Regions from separate parts of the Homo sapiens genome. Here regions 1, 2 and 3 are each linked to region 4. Evidence: promoter capture Hi-C in 16 types of primary human blood cells and fetal thymus (Javierre and others, 2016). All regions are on one chromosome and are shown on one strand. Each heading gives the region's core, a stretch centred on a gene start or on the middle of the fragment in contact. The rest is flanking DNA. Distances are from core to core; before and after follow the strand shown. Region 1 holds the start of CNN1 (calponin 1). Region 2 overlaps PRKCSH (PRKCSH beta subunit of glucosidase II). Region 3 holds the start of RGL3 (ral guanine nucleotide dissociation stimulator like 3). Region 4 holds the start of SPC24 (SPC24 component of NDC80 kinetochore complex).

Region 1 (5,890 bases), core at 26-2,525, 380 kb after region 4:
CATGGCCTGACATAAGGGCTGTAGTCTGTGGCATATTGCAGCCATGCCATTAGCATGTGACCGATAAACTGCATATCCTCAACATATCATTAGTGTGTGGCAGGTTGCAGACATGTCATCCAAGTGTCACAAACATGGCCTTGCCATGTGGGGCATGATGTGGGCATAGCATCCACCCCTGTGGTCCAGGGGTGAGATCTGGCTGGGTAGGGCTGTTTGACAGGGACACAGTTCACGGCCTGGGACTTGCCAACAAAGTCACCCTGTAGTTCAGGTGACACACAAGTGGATGGGGAGGGTGAGACCCAGGATCTCTTCTCCCCCAGGTCCTTATGAGGGGCTGGAGGAGACAGAACTGGGGTGCTGGACCCTCAGCATAAAGAATGCTATAGGCTGGGCATGGTGACTCATGCCTGTAAATCCCAGCGTTTTGGGAGGCCAAGGCGGGCAGATTGCTTGAGCCCAGAAATTTGAGACCAGCCTGGGCAACATAGCGAGACCCCGGGCAACATAGCGAGACCCCATCTCTAAAAAAATAAAATAAAATTAGCCAGGTTGGTGGCACAAGTCTGCAATTCTAACTACTTGGATGGGCTGAGATGGGAGGATCACTTGAGCCTGGGAGGTCAAGGCTGCAGTGAGCTGTGATTGTGCCACTGCACTCCAGCCGAGGGGACAGAGTGAAACCTTGCCTTAAAAAGACTGCTATGGCCCGAGTCCCTCTGCTGTGCCGGGCACTGTGCTGGGCATGTAACAGGCATATTCTTCTGATCTTTACAACTCTCCCATGAGGCAGGCACTATCGTTAGCCCATTTTACAGATGTGGCCATAGAGGCCCAGAGAGGAGAAGGGGCTTACCTAAGGCTATAGACTGTTGGTATCTGGAGATAAACCCGGGATGGTGCTCACTAAACTACCTTGGGTGTCAGTCCTGCTTCAAGACTCCAGAGAGATAAAGAGAGATGACCTCAGAGACAAAGAGACTCAGACCCAGCCAGAGGCCCAATGGACAGTGGGAGGGGTGGGTGGAAGAAGGCTGGTCTCTGTCTGACCAAGCCCCCCCAGAATAACGCAGGCTGCCCCCCTAGGTGGAAACAATGACACAATCAGCTCCCAATACCAAGGGCCTGACATCACAAGGGGAGGGGAAGGCAGCTGAGGTTGTGGGGGGAGGTGCCCCGCCCCTTGGCAGGCCCCTACAGCCAATGGAACGGCCCTGGAAGAGACCCGGGTCGCCTCCGGAGCTTCAAAAACATGTGAGGAGGGAAGAGTGTGCAGACGGAACTTCAGCCGCTGCCTCTGTTCTCAGCGTCAGTGCCGCCACTGCCCCCGCCAGAGCCCACCGGCCAGCATGTCCTCTGCTCACTTCAACCGAGGCCCTGCCTACGGGCTGTCAGCCGAGGTTAAGAACAAGGTAGGGCTGGAGGGCCTCCCTGGCCTGGCCCACACGTCCTGCCAGGCCAGAGCCCTGAGCTTGGGGTCCCTTGAACCCCCTCCTGCCTATCCTATGTGACTTGGAAACTGAGAGGGGAAAAGGGAGTGATATGGGATAGGGGCTGCCTGTCTCCCCCTGAACATCCCGGAGCCCCCAGCTATGGTTGGGGCTGGAATGGGGGGGCACACAGCCACACATAAACAGAGGGGGTCAGTCCATTGCAAAGATACCCACCTGATCAGTCTTCTGTTAACCCTTCGTGTTCTTGGGGGGAACAACATAGGGGGAAGACTTGTTGATTTTTCCATATCCCCCGGCCTGACAAAGAAATTGGGGAGCGCTTGAGTGCTGGGGTACCTGGGAAGTGACGCCGTGAAAGTGTGGGAGATCCTGAAGACAGAGGGGGACGGTGAAAGGCAGGAAGCGGGCATCAGAAGTGCGGCAGGGGTCTCCTGACTGTGGAGCTAGGAAGATACCTGGACACCACCTTCATGCTATGGTTGGGTAAACTGAGGTTCGGAGAGGAGAGGCAAATAGCTGGGGTCCCAGGTAAAGCAGGTACAGCGCTCGGACCCTGGACTCACCCCCCATACACCAGGATGGGCTCAGCTTCTCCCAGCTGGAGAACTTTAAGTTTCCAGCCCACTGGAATCGCCCCAACAGTATTGCCGAGGGAGGAGTTCCTGCCCCATTTGACAGAGGGGAACACTGAGGCTCAGGGTGGCTTTTCCCAGGGTCCCATGGTGAGGAAGTGGGGGACTGGGTTGGAACCTGGGTCGAGGGATCTCGGGGCTGGAGGAGGGGGCTGGTGGGGGGCGGGTCCTCGGGCGAGAGACAGATCCCAGCGCCGCCCTCCTCCCCCCCAGCGCCGGCCCCAGAGCCGCGCAGAGCCGCGCAGAGACGCCGCGCCTTATAAGGCGGCCTCGGGGAGCCCGGGCCACGCTATATAAGGGCCGGTTTGCTTTATAAAGCCGGGCTGGTGGCGTGGGGGGCGGCAGGGCCAGGGCCAGGTGAGGGGGCCGCCCCTCCCACCTCCCCCCACTCACCCGGGAGAAGAAGAGGCAGCCCGGTCCCCTAGGGGCTGGGAGCCTGGCTGGGCTTGGGCGGAGGGTTCTGGAGAAATGGGAGTGGAGTGGGGGAGGGGGGGGACAGTGGAGAGAGGGAAAAGCAGGGAGGTGGGGGGAGAGGCAGACAGAGATACTGGGAGCCTGAGACACCCTAGGGACAGACGGGGGAGGGCGAGCCAGGAGCGAGATAAGACCTAGACAAGGATGGAGGGGCAGGGAGAGGAGACAGAGCCCCACCACCCCCACCCCAGGCAGGAAACCTGGAGACAGAGAAAGACCTAGAGAGGCAGATATACAAGACCCAGGAGCCCTACCCCTGGCCAGACAGGGACTAGCCACCTAGAGAGATGGGGACCCAAGACTGGGCCAAGAAAAGACAGCGCTGGGGAAGAGAGAGACAGAGGAGTCGGGGGGATAAGAGGGAGAGAGACATACAGACGTGCAAGGGGTGGGGGCTAAGACAGAGACAAGCCCCCACCACTAACCAGAGACAGAGCCCTGGAGCTGAAGACCTGGGGGACACGGAGAGACAGAGATGTATGACCAGCACTCCTCTGCAAGCCAGCACCCAGGGACACCTCCTTAGACATCCTTCTTCCCTTCCTGAGGTGCCCTCTCTTCCAACAGGGGGCACAGAGGGGGCAGGGCTAGAGGAAGAGAAGCCCCAAGTTTGGCCTGGGCGAAAAACCAGGGTGCCGGGTGCCACCCCTCTAGCTCAGAGGATCCAGCTCCCCACACCCCACCCCTCATCTACATTCCCTGGTGCCAAACCTCAGAATGCCCGGAATGGCCCCCTGGGCAGGTGCCACCTCAGCCCTGGCTCTCAGCCCGCCCCAGCCCCCATCCCCCAACTATGGATCTGGGGCAAAATTGCCTTAGTTGGGAAGGACGAGGGAGATCAGGCTCTAGGAAGTTCAGACAGGACCCAGGGAGCCCAGGCTGCCCCCAATGCATCCTCACCCCTTTCTCTGTGCCCCCTGCCCTCCCCTCGCCCCAGCTGGCCCAGAAGTATGACCACCAGCGGGAGCAGGAGCTGAGAGAGTGGATCGAGGGGGTGACAGGCCGTCGCATCGGCAACAACTTCATGGACGGCCTCAAAGATGGCATCATTCTTTGCGAGTGAGTGAGGCTCTCGAAGCCGAGACCCTGCAACATCCCCCAACTCCATGCAGCCCCTCAACCCCCAAAACAACCATGATCCTGGAACTGAGTTGAACACTTTCTATTGGATACCTTTGGGGTGGCCAGTAATCATTGTGCCCATTTAACAGGCACAGAAAACTGAGGCTCAGGTGAAATGCATTGCACCAAGTCCCACGTGGTTTCAAGGGAAATGACTCTAGAATCTTAACCACCATGCTATATAGGGTAGGCCCATCTGTGGCCGCCAGAGTCCCCAGAAAGAGCGGTCACAGCTAAAAGGCAGCAGCCAACAGCTGTTCATGGCTGGCTTGGTGATGTGAGGAGAGATGTGCAGCAATAATTAAAGGAGGCCCTGGTTTTCTTTCTGTTTTCTTTTTGTTTTTTTGAGATACAGTCTTGTTCTGTTGCCCAGGCTGCAGTGCAGAGACACAATCTCGGCTCACTGCAACCTCCGCCTCCAGGGTTTAAGTGATTCTCCTGCCTCAGCCTCCCCAATAGCTGGGATTACAGGCACGCACCACCATGCCTGGCTAATTTTTGTATTTTTTTAAAGTAGAGATGGGGTTTCACCATGTTGGCCAGGATGGTTACGAACTCCTGACCTCAATTGATCCACCTACCTCAGCCTCCCAAAGTGCTGGGATTACAGGCACGTGCCACCATGCCCGGTTAATTTTTGTTTTTTTTTTTTTTTTTTCAGTAGAGATGGAGTTTCACCATGTTGACTAGGCTGGTCTTGAACTCCTGACTTCAAGTGATCCACCTGCCTTGGCCTCCCAAAGTGCTGGGATTGCAGGCACATGCCACCACGCCTGGCTAATTTTTGTATTTTTTTTTTTTTTTTTTAGTAGAGACAGTGTTTCACCATGTTGACCGGGCTGGTCTCAAACTCCTGACCTCAAGTGATCCACCTGCCTCGGCCTCCCAAATTGCTGGGATTACAGGCATGAGCCACCTCGCCCGACCTTCTTCTTCTTCTTCTTTTTTTTGAGATGGAGTCTTCCTCTGTCACCCGGGCTGGAGTGCAGTGACATGATCTCAGCTCACTGCAACCTCTGCTTTCCGGGTTCAAGTGATTCTTGTGTCTCAGCCTCCTGAGCAGCTGGGATTACAGGTGCCCACCACCTTGCCCGGATAACTTTTGTATTTTTAGTAGAGACGGGATTTTGCCATGTTGGCCTGGCTGGTCTCGAACTCCTGACCTCAAGTGATCCACCCGCCTTAGTCTCACAAAGTGCTGGCATTACAGGCATGAACCACTGCACCCTGCCGGCCCTGGTTTTCTCCTCGCCTCAAAACCTCATTGCTGAGGGAGGTGAAAACCCTAACAGCTCCCAAGCCCCAGTTCCACTGCAATCTTTTTTTTTTTTTTCAGATGGAATCTTGCTTTGTGACCCAGGCTGGAGTGCAGTGGCATGATCTTGGCTCACTGCAAGCTCTGCCTCCCAGGTTCAAGCAATTCTCCTGCCTCAGCCTCCTGAGTAGCTGGGATTACAGGTGCCCGCCACCACGCCCAGCTAATTTTTGTATTTTTAGTAGAGACGGGGTTTCACCATGTTGGTCAGGCTGGTCTCGAACCCCTGACCTTGTGATCCACCCACCTCGGCCTCCCAAAGTGCTGGGATTATAGGCGTGAGCCACCGCGCCCGGCTCCACTGCAATCTTAATGCATAGCAGGGCCCTAAACCCAGCCTGCGCCCGATCTGCATTTGAGTCTGACCCAGGGCAGAGTGACTGTGAGTGGCCTCGGGAAGACTTTGAAGGTGCAGCTTCATCAAGTCCTAGATGCTGGGAAGAAGGGGTGTGGGGGGTGTTTACCTTGTTCCATTCCCATCCACTAGGAACAAGGAATTGGCAGGTGGGGAGGTAGGCATGCTGGTGTCCCAGCTCAGGCAGAGGACTGCTCAGACGTCAAACAGTGCAGTCCCAGCCTGGGCAACATAGCCAGATTCCATCTCTACAAAACATTTTTGTTTTAATTAGCTTGGCATGGTGGCATGCGCCTGTGGTCCCAGCTACTCGGAAGGCTGAGGTGGGAGGATCGCTTGAGCCCTGGAGGTCAAGGCTGCAGTGAGCTATGATCGCGCCACTGCACTCCAGCCTGGGCAACAGTGAAACCCTGTCTCAAAAAAAAAAAAACTAATGTAAACGACAAGTTGATGGGTGCAGCAAACCAACATGGCACATGTATACCTATGTATCAAACCTGCACGTTGTGCATGTGTACCCTAGAACTTAAAGTAT
Region 2 (5,709 bases), core at 3,129-5,628, 290 kb after region 4:
CTACATTGAGGCGTTTGGGCTTCTCTCCAGAGGGCTACAGGGAACCCCAGCTCGGGAGAGAGACCCAGCTTGGTGTGTGTTTTGGAACATCTCCCTGCTGCCCTGTGGAGTAGAGGCAGGGAGGTAGTAGTCAATGAGGAGGAGGCAGAACAGAGGAGAGCTGGTCTCTTGCCTTCTGCCCACCCAGAAAAAGCTCATTGAGCTACAGGCTGGGAAGAAGTCTCTGGAAGACCAGGTGGAGATGCTGCGGACAGTGAAGGAGGAAGCTGAGAAGCCAGAGAGAGAGGCCAAAGAGCAGCACCAGAAGCTGTGGGAAGGTATGGCAGAAATGGCCAAGGACTCACCTTCAGTCCTGGGTGGGAGCAGGTCTGGGCCTAGGAGTCTCCCGCTCATTATCTGTTGTCAGTTTCAGCAGGTTTTTGATCATGCTGCCCATCGCCTTGTGTGCTTTGAGGTTCGCTTGGATTGTGGCATATGTCAGGAGCCTCCTTTTTAAAAATTGTTTAAATAATTTGTTTTTTGAAACAGCGTCTCCCTCTGCCACCCGGGCTGGAGTACAGTGGCGTGATCTCAGCTCACTGCAACCTCTGCCTCCCAGGTTCAAGCAATTCTTGTGCCTCAGCCTCCTGAGTAGCTGAGATTACAGGCACCTGCCACCACATTTAACTAATTGTTTTGTATTTTTAGTAGAGACGGGGTTTCACAATGTTGGCCAGGCTGGTCCTGAACTCCTGACCTCAAGTGATCCACCTGCCTTGGCCCCCCAGAGTGCTGGGATTACAGGCATGAGCCACCTCGCCCGGCCGCCTACTTCCTTTTAACATCAATGTAGATTTTGTTATATGACTTTAGCAGGACTTAGTTAATCCAGTGACCATTTTTCCTATCAGGTGTTTGGTATTTGTCTTCACTAATTGTAAGAGCTTTTTTGTGGCTGGGCATGGTGGCTCACGCCTGTAATCCCAGCAGTTTGGGAGGCCGAGACGGGCAGATCACCTGAGGTCAGGAGTTCGAGACCACCCTGGCCAACATGGTGAAACGCCATCTCTACTAAAAGAAAAAATTATGGCCGGGCACAGTGGCTCATGCCTGTAATCCCAGCACTTTGGGAGGCTGAGGCAGGCAGATCACGAGGTCAGGAGATTGAGACCATCTTAGCCAACATGGTGAAACCCATCTCTACTAAAAATACAAAAATCAGCTGGACATGGTGGTGTGTGCCTGTAATCCCAGCTACTCGGGAGGCTAAGGCAGGAGAATTGCTTGAACCAGGAAGTTGGAGGTTTTCAGTGAGCTGAGATTGCGCCCCTATATTCCAGCCTGGCAACAGAGTGAGACTCCGTCTCAAAAAAAAAAAAAAAATTAGCCTGGCATGGTGGCATCTGCCTGTGGTCCCAGCTACTTGGGAGGCTGAGGCAGGAGAATCGCTGGAACCCGGGAGACAGAGGTTGCAGTGAGCTGAGATCTCGCCACTGCACTCCAGCCTGGGTGACAAAGCAATACTTCATCTAAAAAAAATAATAAAGAGCTTTTTCTATCTGGGGTTTGGCCCTTTGTCTGCAACTGAAGATTTTTTTTTAGTTTATTTATTTTTGAGATGGAGTCTCACTCTGTCGCCTAGGCTGAAGTGCCAATGGCCCGATCTCTGCTCACTGCAACCTCTACCTCCTGGGTTCAAGTGATTCTCCTGCCTAGGCTTCCTGAGTAGCTGGGATTACAGGCACCTGCCACCACAGCCGGCTAATTTTTGTAGTTTTAGTAGAGACGGGGTTTCACCGTGTTGGCCAGGCTGGTCTTGAACTCCTGACCTCAGGTGGCCTGCTTTGGCCTCCCAACGTGTTGGGATTACAGGCATGAGCCACGGTGCCCAGCTCTGTCTGCAACTGAAGATATTATTTCCCTTCTTCATTTGTTTTTGGTGCTAGAGCCTGGTGTTTTTTGGTAAGGCCACATTGCATGTAGAAAGGGAATTCACTGTCTGGCTCTGTCTGCCCCTGAATCTTTGTCGTGTTGCAAGCTTCCTTTCACTTGGGTCTGGGCAAGCTCAGGCCTGATTTTCCTCAGGATGTGTTCTCAGTGTGGAGCTGTGGAATCAGAGGGAAGCGCCATGTTTTGACCCAGATTCCCAAAGGGTGGCGGGGCTGAGCCAGGGCTCCGAGGGTAGATGGCCTGGATTGGGCCCCAGGCTACACCTCTCACTGGCTAGGTGATTATGGGCAGGTCCCTTCACCCACAGAAAGGTCAGGGACCCCTCAGGCCCTCATCTGTGAGACTCAGAACAGTGTCAGCCGGGTCTCCTGGGACATGCGGGATGTCCTGGGGTGACCTAAGACTCTCTAGAGGAAATACCAGCTGTTTTTATTCTGTTTGTAGAGGACCAAGCTGGAGCTTGGTATACAGTGGGAACTGAATCCTGGTATACAGTAGGAAGTTAATCATTGGAGCCGCTGTTGTGGCTGCTTTCCGCTCTGCTTAGGTTAGAGTAGCGACAGACAAAGGAGGGACTTTTGGGACAGAGGCTCGGTCCCCTTCTGTCCGGCTGGCCCCTCTTCCTGGGAGCAGCCCTGGGGACCCCCAAGATGCCCCCAGGACCGGTCTCCCTCCCTGTATCCTCCCCATCTCCCAGCATCCTTGGCCATGAAGTCTCATTCCTGCCAGCCCTGCCCCGACATGCCTCTGCCAGGTCCTAAACCTAAAGTCTCAGTGGTCGCTCTCCTCTCCCCAACCCCACCTCCCACCTCTGACCGTCTGCGCACTCCATCTGCGTCTCCCCAGAATCTGCCTCTGCTCCGTGCTTCTTCCTCAGTCCCCAGCCTGGGCCAGCCCTTGTTATCACCTGGCTTCTGCCCTCGCCCCCACCTCTGTCCCAACAGTGGCCTGACAGGGCTGCCCTCTGCCACCTGGGTTCCCACCTCCCTGCTCCAGCCCCACCAGTGGCCCTCCTGCCTCTGCACTCCCCACCTTGTCCCGGTCTCCCCCAACACAACCAGGCTTCAACCATTCACCTTGCTCTTCGTCTGTTCTCCCCTGGTAAGGGCAGGGACCTTTGTCTCCTCCACAGTCGTGTCCTCAGGGTCCAGCATGGGGCCAGGCATATAGTAGGCGCTTGGTGGCAAACGACCCTGTGGGGTGCGGGGGCTGATGGGAGCCGGTGGGTGGGCAGGGGGTGACAGAGGTGGCTTCTTTACAGAGCAGCTGGCTGCTGCCAAGGCCCAACAGGAGCAGGAGCTGGCGGCTGATGCCTTCAAGGAGCTGGATGATGACATGGACGGGACGTGAGTGTCCCCTAGTTGGAGCTGCCCACCTTTCCGTGGGCCTGGGTTTCCCTCCCCGCCACCCTCGCCTCTAGAAACCAGCCAGATCCTCCTTGGGTTCCCCCGGCGTGGGGTCCAGGCTGATCCCAAGCCCCGTGTGACCCCGCCTCTTACTCGTGGATGGCCAGGTCCAGGATGCCCTGGGCGAGGAGATAGGGGGACCACCCTCTCCCCAGGAGCTGGGCACAGACCCTCAGCCTCAGGGAGTGTGTCTAGGCATCTAGTGATCGGATGGCTTTTCCCAGCCCCACTACGCTCTGGGGAAAGCCAGACCTGGGTTCGAATCCTGGCTGTGCCTCTGAGCTTGCTGGGTTACCTGGTGGAGGGTGGACTTTTGGGGGCTGAGAGGCACACGGGGAGCCTAGGAGATGTCAGGTGCCAAGGAGCAGGGGGCTTCAGAGGGACCGAATGGGCAAGGGTGGGGGTGGGCTTTGCTGGGTGGGGGACCAAGGCAGATGGCAGCTTCAATGTGCCGGGTCCTGGGGTGGAAGGAGGTGCCACCTGGGTGAGTTGGTAGAGAGGTCATCGGACATTTGGGGGTCCAGGTATCTCCCAGTCCCACCCCTTACTTTGAGCTCCTTTGGGGTCATGGAGTCCTGAGGAGGGGGCAGGAGGGTGGGGAGGCCCCTACACCTTGAGGTCCTGAAGCAAGTTCCAGGGTGGGGCCCTGCAGGGAAGAACAGGTGGGCCACATGGTGCCCCCAACTGAGAGCCACTGGGGCCTCACCCCTCCAGTCTGCTTCTGCCACGCCCCCGCAGGGTCTCGGTGACTGAGCTGCAGACTCACCCGGAGCTGGACACAGATGGGGATGGGGCGTTGTCAGAAGCGGAAGCTCAGGTACCCCCGGCTGCCCCTTGGTTGGGGACTTCTAGGGAGCATTGCCCCAGGGTGACCTCAGGGCACAGGAGGGGGACCAAGGAAAGCTCCTTGCTGGCCTGGGATGCCTCCTCTGGGTGAGCTGGGATGGCAGCCACTCAGGGCCGCTTCCCGCCTGGCAGGACCCGGGATGGAGCCAGGTCGCGCTGGAGCCCGTTTCCCCGCACCTGCCCCCACTCTACCCGCTGTTGAGCACCCAATCCCCTTCCTCCCCCACCCCTGTCCTGCCCTATTCCCCTCCTCCCCCACACCCTCGTCCCCTGTCTGTCTCCTTTCCTATCCTCCTCCTTCCCCGTGGCCCCTGGCTTCTGGCCTCCCTTCTCTGCCCACCCCTGGGTTTCTCCCTCTCCATCTGCAGCCTGGGCCTTGGCCTCTCCCTTGGAGGGCCTGGCCCTCTCTGGTCCTGGGCTCTCTCTTCCTCCATCTGTACGTCCGTTTGTCCATCTGCTTCTCTCTTTCTGTCTCAGTGCCCCCAACCACTCCAGCCCCTGGTCTCCTCCTCCCCTCCCACGGGCCTGTGCTGCCCCCTCCTGGCCGCAGTGCCTCACTGGCGTGGCCCTGGCCTGGTCATCAGGGCCCGGGGCCCAGCCCTCCCGTGCCTGGCACCGCAGCCCGGGTGCCGGGGTGGCCGAGATGGGGGACACGTGGTGGCCTAGATCTTGACACCACCCCCAACACACACAGGCCCTCCTCAGTGGGGACACACAGACAGACGCCACCTCTTTCTACGACCGCGTCTGGGCCGCCATCAGGGACAAGTACCGGTCCGAGGTCAGTGGAGGAGAAGGGAGGGGACTTGGTCCTCCCACCACACTGCCCCCACCCCGCCTCACAAAGGAGCTGCCTCTGGTTCTGGCACCTGGCCACCCTGGCCAGCTGGGTGGCCCCAGCACCCCCCACCGAGACCCCCCGACCCCAGCTGTCGGTCCTCCCTGCAGGCCCCGCAGGAGGGGCAGAGACACCGAGGCTGCCCCTTGGGCTGTGGTGTGAGCCTGAGGGTGTGGGTGGACCCTGAGTCCACAACACCGACCGCACTGCTCACCCGCCAGGCACTGCCCACCGACCTTCCAGCACCTTCTGCCCCTGACTTGACGGAGCCCAAGGAGGAGCAGCCGCCAGTGCCCTCGTCGCCCACAGAGGAGGAGGAGGAGGAGGAGGAGGAGGAGGAAGAAGAGGCTGAAGAAGAGGAGGAGGAGGAGGATTCCGAGGTGCAGGGGGAGCAGCCCAAGGTCCGTGTTTGGGGGAGAAGTGGAGACAGAGAGGGTGGGGGAAGGGCTACTCACTGACCCTGCCCCTGCCCCAGGAGGCCCCACCGCCACTGTCACCCCCGCAGCCGGCCAGCCCTGCTGAGGAAGACAAAATGCCGCCCTACGACGAGCAGACGCAGGCCTTCATCGATGGTGAGGGTGGGCGGGGGCCAGGCTCCTCGGGTGGGCCCAGCGTTTCCTGCCGTGGTGGCACAGGTCGAGGGAAGATCCTGAGCTTAGACCCTGCTCTGACTCGGCCAGCACAAGCCCC
Region 3 (5,268 bases), core at 2,760-5,259, 260 kb after region 4:
TGATGGAGACACTGCACTCCAGCCTGAGCAACGGAGCAAGACCCTGACTCAAAAAAAAGAAAATAAAGACAAGTATCAAGGCAATGGTTTGTAGCTAGAAACACAGAGCATCCTGACCCAACGGCACCAAGGAGGGAAAAGTATTAGACACATGCTAATACTTCAGACAAAGAATTTGTTTTTTTTTTTAGACGGAGTTTCGCTCTGGTTGTCCAGGCGAGAGTGCAATGGCACGATCTCGACTCACCGCAACCTCCGCCTCCCGGGTTCAAACGATTCTCCTGCCTCAGCCTCCCGAATAGCTGGGATTATAGACATGCCCCACCACGCCCGGCTAATTTTGTATTTTTAGTAGGGATGGGGTTTCTCCATGTTTGTCAGACTGGTCTCAAACTCCTGACCTCAGGTGATACACCATCCTTGGCCTCCCAAACTGCTGGGATACAGGCGTGAGCCACCACGCCCGGCTGACAAAGAATTATTATCCCCATTGTAAAGATGAAGAAATTGAGGCTTAGAGTTTAAAATCTTGCTTAAGTTTTGTAGCTCTGAGAGGGGAGAGAAAGCCTGTGTGGGAAGAAGCAGACAGGAAAGGCCTTCTCAGAACACGACTGGATCTGAAAACCCCTCACCTGTCCACACCTGAGGCGGCTCCTCTTCCTGCTCTCGCTCAGCCTCCTCCAAAAAATCTTCCAGAAGCTTCTCTGCTTTTTGAGCCTCAGCACTCCCTGGGGCCGCCCAGCCCAGAAAGGTTCGGACACTGCCCAGGTCCGAATGGGCAGGGTGGTCTCGGAAATCCTGAGGGTGGTCCTGCAGCCAGGAGCCCAGCACTGACACCACAGCCCTGGCCAGAGAGGCAGGGTCTCAGAGCTGGGTCCAGAGTGGGGGACATAGAATATGACTCCTGGTACCTTTTTTTTTTTTTTTTTTTTGAGATAGAGTCTTACTGTGTCACCAAGGCTGCAGTGCAATGGCCTGATCTTGACTCACTGCAACCTCAGCCTCCCGAGTAGCTGGGACTACAGGCATGCGCCACCACACCCAGCTACCTTTTTTTGTTGTTGTTGTATTTTTAGTAGAGACAGGGTTTCGCCATATTGGCCAGGATGGTCTCTAACTCCTGACCTCCAGTGATCCACCTGCCTCGGCCTCCCAAAGTGTTGGGATTACAGGCATGAGCCACCACGCCCCACCTGACTCCCAGTCTCTTATTACCCAACCTGCAATTTTCAAAACCCCAGTCCGACTGCTAACCTTTGACCTCTTGGATTTCCCTCCCCGCACTCCCCTATCTGGATGAAGGACCCACCTCAGGTTCTTGTTGAAGCTCAGATCTTGTACCGCTGTCTTCTTGATCTCTACCCTGGGAAGAGGCCCCCCAGCAGGTGAAGAAGGGGGAACCTAGAGGGGGCTTAGGAAGAGGGCTCTGGGTCTGGGAGGTGTTTCCAGGTTCCACACCTGAGGAGGTGGAGGGGGGTGCCCAGTTGGGGTTCTAGGGTGGAGAATACGGAGGTTATGGTTCGCTACTGACCCGGGAGGTGGGGGCGGTGGCATTGGTGGCAGCAGAAAGCCCAGCAGGCAGGCAGTGGGTACAAAGGTCCGGTAGGTGGCCAGGAAGGCGGGCATGAAGCTGGGGTCCTGCTCACGGTCTCCAAACACCAACTCTCCCACCAGCCGCTCCAGGCGCGCTGCCCTCAGCACCCTCACCTTGCTGGTTCGATAGTGGAGGAAGGTATTGGCAATGGGGCTGGGAGCCTGCAGGAGGGGAGAGGTGGCCATGAGAGAGCAGGAGTGGTCCTCACAGCACCCCTTCTCTAGTCACATTCATCACTAGCACCACTCTTTTTTTTTTTGTTTTTTTTTTTGAGACAGAGTCTCACTCTGTTGCCCAGGCTGGAGTGCAGTGGCACGATCTTGGGTCACTTCAACTTCTGCCTCCTGGGTTCAAGCAATCCTCCTTCCTCAGCCTCCAAGTAGCTGAAACTACAGGCGCACACCACCAAGCCCAGCTAATTTTTGTATTTTTGTAGAGATAGGGTTTCACCATGTTGGTCAGACTGGTCTCGAACTCCTGACCTCAAGTAATCTGCCCCCCTTGGCCTCCCAAAGTCTCCCAAAGGGCTAGGATTACAGGCGTGAACCACCGTGCCCAGCCCCTAGCACCACTTTTTTTTTTTTTTTTTTGAGACAGAATCTCACTCTGTCACCTAGGCTGGAGTTCAGTGGCGTGATCTTGGCTCACTGCAACCTCCGCCTCCTGGGTTCAAGCAATTCTCTGCCTCAGCCTCCCAAGTATCTGGGATTACAGGCACCCGCCACCAAGCCCAGCTAGTTTTTTCGTATTTTTAGTAGAGACGGTGTTTCACCGTCTTGGCCAGGTTGGTCTTGAACTCCTGACCTGATGATCCACTTGCCTCGGCCTCCCAAAGTGCTGGGATTACAGGCGTGAGCCACCTCGCCCCGCCTGTAGCACCATTCTTTCATGTGATTCCTCTGTCTCCCGGCTTCTTGGAGTTATTGTTTTGGTTTGTTTTTTTTAGAAACAGGTCTTGTTTTGTTGCCCAGGCTGGGGTGCAGTGGCACAATCATAGCTCACTGCAGCCTCCAAGTCCTAGACTCAAGCGGTCCCTCTGCCCCAGCCTCCTGAGTAGCTGGGACCACTGCTGGGCATCATCACGCACAGCTAGTTTTTTAATTTTTATTTTTATTAGAGAGAATCTTGCTGTGTTGTCCAGGCTGGTCTCCAATTCCTGGCCTTCTGCCTTGGTCTCTCGAAGCGCAGGGATTATAGGTGTGTGCCCCACTCCCTGCCCGCTTGAAGTTATTGTTCCTCCCCATCCACAAATAGCTCCTGCAACTTGCCCTGGAAACCCTCCCTCTCCCATGCCCTGTCCCCTACTCCCTCTCCCGTCCCCTCCCCCTCCCGTCCCCTCCCCCCACCCCCCCGCCCCCGCCCCACACACTCTTTTCCACCCAGGGCTTCCCTCAGCCCTCCTGTCGCGCTTCACTGGCTGCCCCATCCGCCCTCACCTAGCCACTTCTAAACCAACCCCATTCCACCTTCCAGCCCCGGCCCTCTAAACCTGCCTTTCCCAACTCTGCCGTCCAGTTCTGTCCTTACCAAGTTGTCCCTAGGCTCCTCTCGGGAACTGCGCGGCCATCGCCTGGCCCCACCCCATTCCCTGGATCTCCCCCCACTTACCTGGCCGCCCCCAGTCCCCTTTCTACCTGGTCGCCTCATCTGGTCGCCTCCGAGCCCCTCCCTTCCTTCCGCCCACTGCACCTGGCGGCCTGTGCTCGGCTCTCCAGCTCCGCCCTCAACTGGTCGCTTCCGGCCCCGCGCCACCCACCAAACCCCCTCCTCACCTGGCTGCCCCCGGGGCCCTCCGCCGGGCTCCTGCGCTGACTGCGCTGCCGCCGCAGGGAGACACTGTACACCGCGCCGTCCTCGGTCTCTTCACCCCAGTCCTGCAGCGGTGCCTGGACGCACAGGCGGACTCAGGGCACCAAAGGGGCACAGGTCCTGGGGCCTCAGCCTCCTTGGCCGCTCGGACTCGGGCCGAGTCCTCCTGCTGCATCCCCACGCCCCTTCCCGGCCAGAAGCTGCGAGACTAGGGCTGGGGTCCCAGGCTAGTCCCCTCCTCGCTGCGGGTCCCCTCCTCCCAGGTCCTGAGGACATGGGGTGGCATTTGGGGATGTCCCAGGGCCCAGTCTAATAGAACCTGTCTCTAGCTCTTTCTGCCGACTGCGCTCAGAGACTCGCGCCCCCATCCCTAAGAGGAACCAGTCGCTTCACTGGGTCAAGGGCCGCGAGTCCCCAGGAGGGGACTCCAGGGCAAGTTCAGATTGGGAGCAGATACCGTCCGACGGGCGGGCGCTTGGAGTTTCTGGACCTGCGGGTCACCAGGGATGCGGGGTCCGGGGATCCCTTGTCCCCTTACCAGGGCCAGCTCTTTGCCTGCTGTGCGCTCCATGGCCGGCGCCCGTCCCTCTCAGTGGCGCCGCTGAGTGAGGCGGAAGGGCCGGCGGGTGGCGGGTGGCGGGCGGCGGGCAGTGGCCGGGCGCTGAGGCCAGAGGGGCGGAGCGGCCGAGCTGCTGGGGCGGGGCGGGGCAGGGCAGGCCGGACCCAGCCTCTGGGTGCCTCCAGCCGGACCCAGCGCCAGCCCAGGAGAGGTCCTGGCTCTTCCGCTGGGTGCCTATCAATCTGTCCCCAGAAGAAAGGACATATCTGTCCCCAAGGGGTCTTTTTTGTATCCCCAGATGTGGGGGAGCTCCTGTGTGGGGGCATGTGTGTGTCCCCAGACCAGAGTCCTCTGTCCTCCAGTGGAAGGGGCTAGCTTGATCAAGTGTGGGGGCATCTTCCACTTTTTATTATTATTGCTATTATTTTGAGATGGAGTCTCGTTCTGTCACCCATGCTGGAGTACAGTGGCTTGATCTTAACTCACTGCAACCTCCGCCTCCCAGATTCAAAGGATTCTTGTGCCTCAGCCTCCCAAGTAGCTAGGATTACAGGTGCCGCCACCATGCTCAGCTAATTTTTGTATTTTTTGTAGAGGCGGGGTTTTGCCATACTTGCCAGGCTGGTCTCAAACTCCTGGCCTCAAGAGATTCGCCCACCTCAGCCTCCCAAAATGCTGGGATTACAGGCATGAACCACGGCGCCCAGCCTTATTATTTTTTAGAGACAGGGTCTCACTCCTGTTGCCAAGGCTGCAGTGCAGTGGCTTGATCTTGGCTCACTGCAATCTCCGCCTCCTGGGTTCAATCCATTCTCCTGCCTCAGTCTCCCAAGTAGCTGGGACTACAGGCATATGCCACCATGCTCAGCTTTTTTTTTTTTTTTTTTTTTTTTTTTTTTTTTTTTGGTAAAAACTGGTTTTCACCATGTTGCCCAGGCTAGTCTGGAACCCCTGGGCTCAAGCGACACACCCAGCTCAGCCTCCCAAAGTGCTGGGAATATAGGTATGAATGAGCCACTGCACCCCGCCCTTATTTTATTTATTGAGACAGGGTCTGGCTCTGTGGCCCAGGCTGGAGTGCAGTAGCACGATCATAGCTCACTGCAGCCTGGAGCTCCTGGACTCAAGTGATCCTCCCAACTCAGCCTCCCAAAATACTGGGATTACAGGCATAAAACCACTACATCGGGCCATCTCCCATTTTTAAGCTCCATCTGCGTCACTAGCTGATGGGAGTCATCATGACCCAGGTTGGAGGAGGCAGTCTGTGGCCCTGGGTTTTCAGGGACAGCCGTCTCTTGGGTGG
Region 4 (5,373 bases), core at 410-2,909:
ATAGCAGCGTTATTCAACACAGCCAAAAGGTGGATACAACCCAAGTGCCCATGGATGGATGAATGAATAAACACAATGCGGTCCATCCTTCTATATCATGAAATATGACTCAGCTTTAAAATGGACGGAAATTCTGGCCAGGCGTAGTGGCTCACCCCTGTCATCCCAGCACTTTGGGAGGCCGAGGTGGGCGATCACTTGAGGCTGGGAGTTTAAGACCAGCCTAGCCAACATGGTGAAACCCCATCTCTACTAAAAATACAAACATTAGCTGGGCATGGTGGCGCATAAGTGTGTTCTCAGCTACTTGGGAGGCTGAGGTGGGAGGATCACTTAAGTCTGGGAGGCAGAGGTTGCAGTGAGCCAAGATCACACCACTGCATTCAAGCCAGGGTAATGGAGCGAGGCTCTGTCTCACAGTAAGTACACAAAATGAAAGGAAATTCTGATACAGGCTATGACATGGATGAACCTGGAGGACATTATGCTCCATGAAATAAGCCAGACACAAAAGGGTAGATATTGTATGATTCCACTAGGAAGGGTAGATATTGTACAATTCCTCGTAAGGTTCCTAGAGGAGTCAAATTTGAGACAGAAAGTAGAACCCTGGTGGGTGCCAGGGTCTGAGAAGGGGATGGGGAGTGAGTGTTTCATGGGGACAGAGCTTCAGTTTGGAAAGATGAGAAAGTTCTGGAGATGGATGATGGTGCTGATGGTTGCACAGCAGTGTGAATGTGCTTAAGGCCACTGAACTGTGCAGTTACAGATAGTGAAGATGGGCCGGACACAGTGGCTCACGTCTGCAGTCCCAGTACTTTGGGAGGCTGAGGCAGGCAGATTACCTGAGGTCAGGAGTTTGAGACCAGCCTGGCCAACGTGGTGACCCCCCGTCTCTACCAAAAATACAAAAATTAGCCGAGTGCGGTGGCAAGCGCCTGTAATCCCAGCTACTCAGGAGGCTGAGGCAGGAGAATAGCTTGAACCCGGGAGGTGGAGGTTGCGGTGAGCCCAGGGCCTGGCAGCAGCAGATGCTCCATAAAACATCTGAATGCCTTCAGGAAGAAGGGATGGGCTATTGTCACAACCATTTGACAAGGAAGGAAGCTGAGGCACAGAGAATTTAAGAAACTCACCTCAAGTCTCACAGCGGACATGGGGATGGGTGCTAGGATTCAAACCCGGAGCTTTGACTCCTGAGCCCCAGTTCAAACCCTGAGACCCCCAGCTCCTGCTCACGGAGAGCTCAGAAGGGGCCAACCCCTCCAGACTCCTATATTTACCACTAAACCCCTGGGGGGTGGGGGATGGTTGCTGTCATAAAGCCGATTTCTCAGATGGTGAAACTAAGGCTCAGAGGGGGCCGTCCCAGGGGGCATAGGGCAGGAGATGGGAGAGTCCAGGAGAGAAGGGGTTTTGAGGTGGGCCTGGTCGCCCCCTCCCAGCACCCGGGCCCCTTCCCCCGTGGGCCCGCGACCACGCTCCGACCCTCACCTCGCAGCTGCTTCTCGGCACCGTCTTGCGTTTCCAGCAGCCGCTCCACCACCTGCTCGTGGCGCCCCAGCAGCCGTCGCTGCTGCGCCTCCGCGCGGTTGGCGCCCAGCAGGCTGAGCAGCCCCTGGCTCACCTCCTCTATGTCGCGGAAGGCGGCCATGACTACGCCAGGCTCCAACCCGCGCAAATTTGACTGTCCGCGGGGCCCGCCCTCTTCCAGAAGAGGTTGCTTTCCATTGGATTTTTTGATACGTCAGTCATAAGCAATGGCCAATAGGCATGGGGAACAGGATCTTAGACTGGGCTAAGCCGCCTTTGGTCTGGCCTGGTGCGCCTGCGACCACTCCTCCGTCAGTCATCGGTGATGACCAATCGGCGCAGGAAGGGGGAGGCTCCGTTATCCTTCCCGATGCGCCTGCGCGGGAGAGAAAGCGGCTGTTTATTTCTCCATAGGTCGAGCGCTTGCTCTGTGCAGGGTGGGGTTCTAACGGCAAAGCAGCGAGCAGCTTCTCCTGGAACTTACATCCTACAGTGTGTGCGTGGGATACACAATAAGCATAGAGAATAAGTAGATTCTATGAGAGGCTGCATAGCAAAATGGCGTCTGCAGCCAGATTTACTGGGTTCGAATCCCAGCGTTGCCACTTACTAGCTGTGTTACCCTGGACAGACTTCACCTCTCTGTGCGGTACTTTCCTCCTTAGTAAAATGAGGGTCATACTAGTGCCTGTGTCAGCGTTGGCGTGAGAATTCTTCTTATTACTTTTTTTTTAGAGACAAGGTATTGCTCTGTCACCCAGGCTGAAGTGCAGTGCCACAATCATAGCTCATTGCAACTTCGACCTCCTGGCCTCCAGCAATCCTCCTGCCTCCGCCTCCCAAAGTGCTGGGATTACAGGCGTGAGCCACCGAGCCCAGCCTGGCGTGATAGTGTCTCCTATTCAGTAGGTGCTATATAGTTGTTTAATGAAACATACATAGAATCCTAGCATGTAGCTGGGTGCAGTGGCTCACGCCTGTAAGTCTGAGCTCTTTGGAAGGCTAAGACAGGAGGATCGCTTGAGCCCTGGAGTTTGAGACTAGCCTGTCTCAAAACAAAACAAAACAAAGAAAAGATCAGTGCTGACTCTAAGGTGCTGGTTCCATGCTAGACACTGGTATTTCTGCAAGAAACAAGATGTTAAGATGGCATCTTTTTTTCTTTCTCTCTCTTTTTTTTTAAGACAGAGTCTCACTCTGTTGCCCAGGCTGGAGTGCAAGGCATTCCAGCCTGCTTCCTGGGTTCAAGGCATTCTCCTGCATCAGCCTCCCGAGTAGCTGGGATTACAGGTGCCCGCCACCGCACCCAGCTGATTTTTTGTATTTTTAGTAGAAACGGGGTTTCATTATGTTGGCCAGGTTGGTCTTGAACTCCTGACCTCGTGATCTGCCTGCCTCAGGCTCCCAAAGTGCTGGGATTATAGGCGTGAGCCACCGCGCCTGGCGTGGCAACATTTTTATGTGTGCTACCACCTAAAGAACATCTCATTGCTTTCCTATGATTTTTTTTTCTTTTCTTTTCTTTTCTTTTTTTTTTTTCTTGAGACAGAGTTTCGCTGTTGTTGCCCAGGCTGGAGTGCAATGGCGCGATCTCAGCTCACTGCAACCACCACCTCCCAGGTTCAAGTGATTCTCCTGCCTCAGCCTCCCGAGTAGCTGGGATTACAGGCATGCGTCACCATGCCCAGCTAATTTTGTATTTTTAGTAGAGACGGGGTTTCTCCATGTTGGTCAGGCTGGTCTTGAACTCCCGACCTCAGGTGATCCACCTGCCTCGGCCTCCCAAAGTGCTGGGATTACAGGCGTAAGCCACTGTGCCCGGCCTTCTTTTCTTCCTTCTTTTTTTTTTTTTTTTTTGAGATGGGGTCTTGTTCTGTCCCCCAGGCTGAAGTGCAGTGGCTCAGGTGATCCTTTCATTTCAACCTTCCAAGTAGCCGGGACTACAGGTGTGTGTCACCCTTTGGTGCCTGAGAGCATGGCTTCTTGAACCAGCTGTGTAATGTTGGCATAGACCTCACTTCTTTGTGCCTAAAGGCAGTGAATAACAATTAGGCAGAGTGAAATCAAGAGGGGAAAAGACTTCAGGTTCACTTTCTGATGCTGCAGCTTACCTGTGACCTTGGCAGGTTCCTAACCTTTCTAAGCCATAGTGGCTAAAGATAGCCCTTTCTTATTAGCTGCCAGGAGGTGTCCCAGAGATAAGCCAGGCAAGATTGTGCAACTCGAGCCTGATAGATCTAAAGGCTCCTGTGGAAAAATGCCACCCGCCCACCTCCCTTCCAAAAAAGCAAAGCGAGAACCGCTTCCCAGCCATTAGGATGGCTACTGTCCAAAACCAACCAACCAGCCAAGCAACCTGGAAAATAACAAGTGTTGACCAAGATGTAGAGAAATTGGAATGCTGTGTACCCTTGCTGAGAATGTAAAATGGTGCAGCTGCTGCGGGAAACAGTATGGCAGTTCCTCAAAAAATTAAAAATAGTATTACCATATCAGCAATTCCACTTCTGGGTATAGCCCCAAAAGAATTGAAAGCAGGTTGTTGGGCCGGGCGCAGTGGCTCATGCCTGTAATCCCAGCACTTTGGGAGGCCGGGGCGGGCGGATCACCTGAGGTCGGGAGTTCGAGACCAGCCTGACCAACATGGACAAACCCCGTCTCTACTAAAAATACAAAATTAGCCAGGCGTGGTGGCGCATGCCTGTAATCCCAGCTACTAGGGAGGCTGAGGCAGGAGAATCGCTTGAACATGGGAGGCGGAGGTTGCGGTGAGCTGAGATCACGCCATTGCACTCCAGCCTGGGCAACAAAAGGGAAACTCCGTCTCAAAAAAAAAAAAGAAAAAAAAAAGAAAGAAAGAAAGAGAAAGAAAGCAAGTCATAGAGCAGATATTTGCAAGTCTATGTTCATAGCACCCATTATAGCGAAAGGGTGGAAACAGCACAAGTGTCCTTAGATAGAAGAATTAATAAAACGTGGTTCATCTCTACAACACAATTGTTTTTTTTTGGTTCATCTGTACAACGCAATTTTTTTTTTTTTGAGCCACCATGCCCGGACACAATTTTTTTTTCTTTTTCCTTTTTTTTTTTATGAGACAGGATCTCTCTGCCAGGCTGGAGTGCAGAGACGCAATCATGGCTCACTCAACCTCCTGGGCTCAAGCAATCCTCCAACTTTAGCCTCCCAAGTAGCTGGGACTACAGGCACATGCCACTACACCCAGCTAATTATTTTTTTTTTCCTAGAGACAGGGGTCTCATTGTATTGCCTAGGCTGGTCTCCAACTCCTGGGCTCAAATGATCCTCTTGCCTCAGCCTCCCAAAATGCTGGCATTACAGGTATGAGTCACCGTGTCTACCATGTCTGGCCCATAGGACAGAAGATTATTCAGCCTTAAAAAGGAAGGAGGCCAGGTGCGGTGGCTCACGCCTGTAATCCTGGCACTTTGGGAGGCCAAGGCGGGCGGATCACGAGGTCAAGAGATTGAGACCATCCCGGCCAACATGGTGAAACCCCGTCTCTACTAAAAATACAAAAATTAGCTGGGCCTGGTGGCACGTGCCTGTAGTCCCAGCTACTTGGGAGGCTGAGGCAGGAGAATCGCTTGAACCTGGGAGGTGGAAGGTGCAATGAGTCGAGATCGCACCGCTGCACTCCAGCCTGGTGACAGAGTGATACTCTGTCTCAAAAAAAAAAAAGGAAGGAAATGCTGACCAGGTCCAGTGGCTCACGCCTGTAATCCCAGCACTCTGGTAGGCTGAGGCAGGCAGATCGCCTGAGGTCAGGAGTTCAAGAACAGCCTGGCCAACATGGCAAAACCCCGTCTCTACTAAAAA

Evidence for each region. The method cuts DNA at HindIII sites, captures the fragments that hold promoters and counts their contacts. A CHiCAGO score of 5 or more calls a contact.
Region 1: a contact is called between the fragment with the promoter of CNN1 here and the fragment with the promoter of SPC24 in region 4, in 9 of 17 cell types (neutrophils, M0 macrophages, erythroblasts and 6 more). The highest score is 14.1, in neutrophils.
Region 2: a fragment that was not itself captured here is called in contact with the fragment with the promoter of SPC24 in region 4 in 8 of 17 cell types (M0 macrophages, M1 macrophages, erythroblasts and 5 more); the score reaches 8.6 in M0 macrophages.
Region 3: a contact is called between the fragment with the promoter of RGL3 here and the fragment with the promoter of SPC24 in region 4, in 6 of 17 cell types (neutrophils, M1 macrophages, erythroblasts and 3 more). The highest score is 9.5, in neutrophils.

Annotation. Positions count from the first base shown.
Region 1 is chr19:11,537,576-11,543,465 of GRCh38, forward strand. It overlaps CNN1 (calponin 1), which reads left to right and starts at 1,276. Exons shown (of 7, transcript NM_001299.6): 1 at 1,276-1,415; 2 at 3,501-3,622. The coding sequence starts at 1,353. RefSeq lists enhancers at 247-1,192, 3,966-4,085 and a silencer at 2,252-2,301. The HindIII fragment of the contact is 23,519 bases long and covers 1-5,890 here.
Region 2 is chr19:11,442,199-11,447,907 of GRCh38, forward strand. PRKCSH (PRKCSH beta subunit of glucosidase II) reads left to right here. Exons shown (of 18, transcript NM_001289104.2): 7 at 188-317; 8 at 3,191-3,275; 9 at 4,074-4,152; 10 at 4,876-4,962; 11 at 5,241-5,420; 12 at 5,495-5,591. Among named protein-coding and RNA genes, the nearest start is that of PRKCSH, 9.4 kb to the left of the region's middle. The HindIII fragment of the contact is 4,726 bases long and covers 2,016-5,709 here.
Region 3 is chr19:11,415,305-11,420,572 of GRCh38, forward strand. RGL3 (ral guanine nucleotide dissociation stimulator like 3) reads right to left here and starts at 4,010. Exons shown (of 19, transcript NM_001035223.4): 1 at 3,942-4,010; 2 at 3,367-3,480; 3 at 1,532-1,755; 4 at 1,310-1,363; 5 at 633-844. The coding sequence starts at 3,974. The HindIII fragment of the contact is 8,157 bases long and covers 698-5,268 here.
Region 4 is chr19:11,154,123-11,159,495 of GRCh38, forward strand. It overlaps SPC24 (SPC24 component of NDC80 kinetochore complex), which reads right to left and starts at 1,660. Exons shown (of 5, transcript NM_182513.4): 1 at 1,495-1,660. The coding sequence starts at 1,654. RefSeq lists a silencer at 1,617-1,776. The HindIII fragment of the contact is 19,008 bases long and covers 1-5,373 here.